Regions from separate parts of the Homo sapiens genome. Here region 2 is linked to region 1. Evidence: promoter capture Hi-C in 16 types of primary human blood cells and fetal thymus (Javierre and others, 2016). All regions are on one chromosome and are shown on one strand. Each heading gives the region's core, a stretch centred on a gene start or on the middle of the fragment in contact. The rest is flanking DNA. Distances are from core to core; before and after follow the strand shown. Region 1 holds the start of B4GALT6 (beta-1,4-galactosyltransferase 6). Region 2 has its middle 13 kb from the start of DSG2-AS1.

The links. Contacts are between HindIII fragments. The CHiCAGO score rates a contact against its expected background, and 5 or more counts as called.
Region 2: a fragment that was not itself captured here is called in contact with the fragment with the promoter of B4GALT6 in region 1 in 2 of 17 cell types (M0 macrophages and M1 macrophages); the score reaches 7.8 in M0 macrophages.

The regions. Positions count from the first base shown.
Region 1 is chr18:31,683,225-31,685,924 of GRCh38, forward strand. B4GALT6 (beta-1,4-galactosyltransferase 6) reads right to left here and starts at 1,357. Exons shown (of 9, transcript NM_004775.5): 1 at 1,088-1,357. The coding sequence starts at 1,202. RefSeq lists a silencer at 1,454-2,493. The HindIII fragment of the contact is 10,803 bases long and covers 1-2,700 here.
Region 2 is chr18:31,568,857-31,571,556 of GRCh38, forward strand. No RefSeq gene overlaps it. Among named protein-coding and RNA genes, the nearest start is that of DSG2-AS1, 13 kb to the left of the region's middle. The HindIII fragment of the contact is 5,620 bases long and covers 1-2,700 here.

The DNA of each region.
Region 1 (2,700 bases), core at 107-2,606:
ATCTACTACACTCAAGACAATGCCCTGATCATTCCATCTGAAAATTCTGCAGGTGTTTTCACTCTGTAAGGGGCATTACATTTTTAGCTAACTCGGAACAAAGAGCACTGGCTCAAACGACCACAGTGTGTAAGGAGAAATGAGAGGAGATGCTCACTGTTACTAAGTAATTGAACATTAAATACGTAATAGCCAGGAAAAACTCAGAAAAGTTTTGGAAATATGACATATTTTAATATGCATGTGAAGTTCATAATTCTCATTCACTAGAATTAACGCCGCATTGGCTCCTTTTCAACAAATGGGGGACGAGGAATTCGGATATTTAATAAAGAAGTTAATTCAAGCAGTTTTACAAAAGTGTATTTTGCACCAAAGGCCAAAAAATGATAAACCGGTTAACATTTTAAACTACAAGTTCCCTTAGATAACGGTTATTTTAATCACTATTTTCTCAGAAGTCATCCTAACAGGTAGCAAAGGCAACGTACCCTTGAAAATAACACCCAAGCAGACTAAAATAATGGAGCATTGTTTTTACAAGACAACTCATCGCCTTAAAATTCCCCAAGTATGGCACAAAAAGAATGGGGTCCACTGACCCCATTCTAAAAAAGCGACCTAGGACCCTAGAAAACACACATTGTTGGACTCAATCACATTCCCTGCTGCTGGCTCCTCCATATTTTTACAACCAGTTATTATACCCGAGAGTGTTTGAATAAAACTACGATTAAGCACTCAGTTTAGGCTTAAAGACTTAACATTAAATGGATAAAGCTGTCATGAACACTCAAGAAAGCGACTAGGGCATCCCGGGCCATCACACTAATTTTGCTACGTCTATTTAATGCAATCTTTTACGTTATTAACAAACATGCATTAACAAAATGCATGCATTAACAAAACTCACATACCAAAGCCATGCCCTGAAGCAGTTTGACACGTCTGAAATAACATTTAAAACAAAACGCTTTTCTGCGGGCCCCTGTTTGAACAGCTTCCAAATCCCAGAAGTAACATCGGATAACAGCCTGCGCTGGCTGTGGTGTGACCAGGGGAAGCGAGGGTGTGTCTCGGTGCTTACCGATGCCTGGGGCCACATAGATGAAGTACAGACAGGACGAAGAGAGGGAGAAGAAGAAGATGAAGGCGAGGAGAGAGCGATTGGAAACCCGCATCATCCGCCTGAGCACAGACATCTTCCTCTTCCCTGCCAGCAGCCCAGGCTGCGCTCTCAGGCCGGACTCGGGGCCACTGTCCAGGCCCTAAACTTCCATAAATGTGCTGAGAACCCCGAGACTGCAGCGGGGTCCGCGCGGGGAGGCTCTGGGGAGAGGGCCCGAGCGGAAAAGAGGAAATGGGAGGGAGCGGACGGAATGAATGGGAGGCCAGAGAGTCGGGGGAGGGGAGGCGCGGAGGCCGAGGGACAAGAGGTGGAGGGGGGAGAGGGGACTGGGGGCTAGGGGCCCGGGGACGGCAGGACGGAAGAAAGCCGGGGAAGGGCGAGGAGGAGCGTTTTCTCCGCCAAGCAGCGGCGGGAGGAGGGGCTGCAGGTGGGAGGAGGCGCAGGCTGCGCGCCGCGGCGCCCCTGCGGAGAGGGGCAGCTAACTGCAGCACGCCCGGCTCCGCTGCCCGCGCCCGGCGGGGTCCCGCCGCGAAGCCCCGTGCTTAAGGTCCGGGCCGCCCGCGTCCGCTCGGCAGGCCCTGCGCCGCCTCCTACTCCGGGCCGCGGCGTCTCCTGCCTGCGCGGGGCTAGCGTGGGCGCCGGGGCCGCAACCAGCGCGCGCCACGCGCGGGGGCCCGCGGGGGCCCTCGGGGCCGAGGAGCTGGGCGCTCGCCTGCACCGAGCCGCCTCCTCATGCCGCGCCGGGCCCCGGCGCCCCGCGGCCGCCGCGGGAGCTGAGCACAGGCCAGGGCGGCGTCCCGGCCAGCGACGAACGCGCTCCGACTCCGGCCGCCGCCAGCTGCCTGCCTGGCCGCAAGGGCGGCAGCGGCATTACCGCCGCGCGCCCGGGGTGAGGCGCCCCCGCCGGGCCCGCGGACACCAGGCGAAGAGCAACCGGGCGACGCGCGCTGCGGGCAGAGCCGGGGAGCCGGAAGAGCAGAGGCCGAGCGCCGTCGGAGCCGCGTCTGGTTGGAGAAAGAGGCGGACGTGAAGGGGCGGGGGAGCCGCGGAGGAAAACCGGGACCGGCGGGAACGTCTCGAGACCCCTGCGCGCTTCGCGCGCTCGCTCGGAACTCGGCAGGCGGCGCTGCGCCGGGCCCCGAGGAAACCTGGAGGTCCCCGCCCTCCCCGCGCCCGAAACACCGCGCGTCCTGATAGGCCCGCGCCCAGCAGCCCCCTCCCCGCGCCCGCCGCACCGGGGCCCCACCGCCTCCTGCGTCACCGCCGCCCCCGCCCGCCCGGGGACCCCGCGGTGACCGCGCTGCTGGGGGTTGAGGGACGCGTTGCGAGCCCCGGATACATTGTACCCTGGGGGTACATAATGAAGGATGCTGTACCTGAAAGGAAAAGGGCATCTCCAAAAGGGGACTTCGCGGGTGGAATTTCCTTCCAAAATCCTCGAGGAACAAGGTGTATTTCCGACCTGGATTAATGAATCCCCCCTCCTATCCCGCACTTCCTGTGGAAACAGTGTCAGGATGTGGCGCGGACCTATGTGCGTCCCTTATACCAGGACTTGCCTTCAACGCTGA
Region 2 (2,700 bases), core at 27-2,526, 110 kb before region 1:
GCTCTTTTATCTATACACTTGGAAAAAGGCGTCTGCTTCATTTTATTTTTGCCTTTGCTCACCTCGGCTCCTTTATTTCTGATACTAGCAACTCAAGAAAGGGGCATTTTAATTCAATCAACCAAGAAAATCAATCCCAATTGACCTCGGGACCATATTTTTATTTTCATTGAAAGTTAACTAAAATTATTGAAAAGAATGAAAAATAATAAGAAACAGAAAAACCTAATAGCTTGGAACAACATGTATTCGCTAATTTTGTTTACTAATACCTCCATCCAGGGGAGTTATTTCTAGCAAGATTCTTTTTTATTTTTATTTTTATTTTTTTTTTTTTTGAGCGGAATCTCACTCAGTCATCCAAGCTAGAGTGCAGTGGTGCCATCTCAGCCCACTGCAACCTCTGCCTCCCAGGTTCCAGTGATTCTCCTGCCTCAGCCTCCTGGGTAGCTGGGATTACAGGCACATACCACCATGCCCGGTTAATTTTTTGTATTTTTAGTAGAAACGGGGTTTCACCACGTTGGCCAGGCTGGTCTCGAACTCCTGACCTCAAACAATCTGCCCACCTCGGTCTCCCAAAGTATTGGGATTACAGGCGTGAGCCACCATGCCTGGCCTGCAAGATCCTTTTTTATTGAGGCAATTAAAAGTTAGAAGAGAAGAAATGGCTGTGTAAAAATAGGAGCAGATAGAAAATGAGAATGGCCGGGTGCAGTGGTTCATGCCCACAATCCCAACTCTTTGGGAGGCCAAGGCTGGTGGATCACCTGAGGTCAGGAGTTCAAGACCAGCCTGCCCAACATGGCAAAACCCTGACTCTACTAAAAATACAAAAAATTAGCTGGGTGTGGTGGTGGGCACCTGTAATCCCAGCTACTCAGGAGGCTGAGGCAGGAGAATCGCTTGAACCCGGGAGGCAGAGGTTGCAGTGAGCCAAGATCACGCCTAGGAGTGCAAAAAAAAAAAGAAGAAAAGAAAAGAAAATGATAATCTTACCATCTCAGCCCTCAAGTAAAAGTAAAGGGCAGGGCTAAGTCAGCAGAATGATCAGGAAACTGATTCCACAGCCCTATTGCCTAAATAGGGAGGGACAAACAAGATTCAGGCATTTCCCTCTTGGTCTACATGTGGATTAGGTCCCCCACCAGTAAAAACTCCTCCCTAATAGTTCTCACAGTTGTTCACCTAAACCTGAGCAGTGCTCTGGGGTGCATTAGCTGGTGAGAAGCTCTCCTTGCTTGAGCCAGTTTTAGGAGAAGGAACAGTGGGATTGAAAGTCACTAGGGAGCTAGCCTATGGCCAAGTGCTATGAATGGCCTGCCATGTTCCAGAAACCCCCATGTGAGATCTTTCTCTGGGTTAAAGCTCCATGGTTGCTAATTGCTGTGAGAGTGATAGAGTCCCCTAAGTCTAATCAAGCCTGGAAGCTGAAGGACATTGTGTGGACTTGGGCCTTGAGAGGTTCCCGAACTCCAGAATTCTGCAAGTTATATGACTTTCATTTAAATTTTCTTTTTAATTGAGAAGGAGTCTCACTCAGCCACCCAGGGTGGGGTGCAGTGGCTTGATCACAGCTCACTGCAGACTCACACTCCTGAGCTCAAGCAATCCTCCTGCCTCAGCCTCCTAAGTAGCTGGGACTATGGGATATGCCACTATGCCCAGCTAATTATTTTTTGGTAGAGATGAGGTCTCACTACACTGCCCAGGCTGGTCTTGAACTCCTAGCCTTAAGCGATCCTCCTGCCTTGGCCTCCCAAAGTGCCGGGATTACAAGCATAAGCCACCATGCCTGCAGTTATATGACAATGATTGTTTCTCTTTAAACGAGGAAGCATTAGCTCAGAGAAATGAGAAATCTCTGTATGTAGTAGATGATGCAAACCATGCTAAAATAAACACATATAATTGGAGAAGCTAAGATCATTCTTAAAGCTAGGTCAGTCATTCCAGCTGCCAATCAAAACCTGCACACAAAAACCTGGACATAAGTATTTATAGTAGCTTTATTTATTTATAATTTGGCATAGTTGATGCCAAAACTTGGAAGCAATCAAGTTGCCCTTCAATAGGTGAGTGGATAAACAAATTGTAGTGCATCCACACAACAAAATACGATTCAACGATAAAAAGAAATGAGGTATCAGGCCATGAAAAGACATGAAGAAATTTTAAATGCGTATTACTAAGTGAAAGAAGCCAATCTGAAAAGGCTACATACTATATGATTCCAACTATCTGACATTCTGGAAAATGCAAAACCATGGAGACAGTCAAAAGACCAGTGGTTGCCAGGGGTTGCAGGGGAGGTAGGGAAAGAGAGGGGGATAACTAGGCGGAATACAGGGGGATTTTAGGGCAGTGAAACTATTCCATATGATACGGTGATGGCGGATATGTGTTATCATACAATTGTCAAAACCTCATTCAACACAAAGTGGATCCTAATGTAAACTATGGACTTCAGTTGAGAATAATGCATCAATATTGGCTATCAGTTACAACAAATGCACCGCACCGATGCAAGAAGTTTATCATTGGGGAAGCTGTCAGGTGGAAGATTTGAGGAGATACAAGGATAAAGGGGATAAATAGTATATAGGAGACAAAGAACAAGACTTGGCTGAAAGAAGGCAACATATTAGAAAGAGGTTTTATAAGAAGCCATTCAAGTGAAGAAATATAAGGATAGACTGA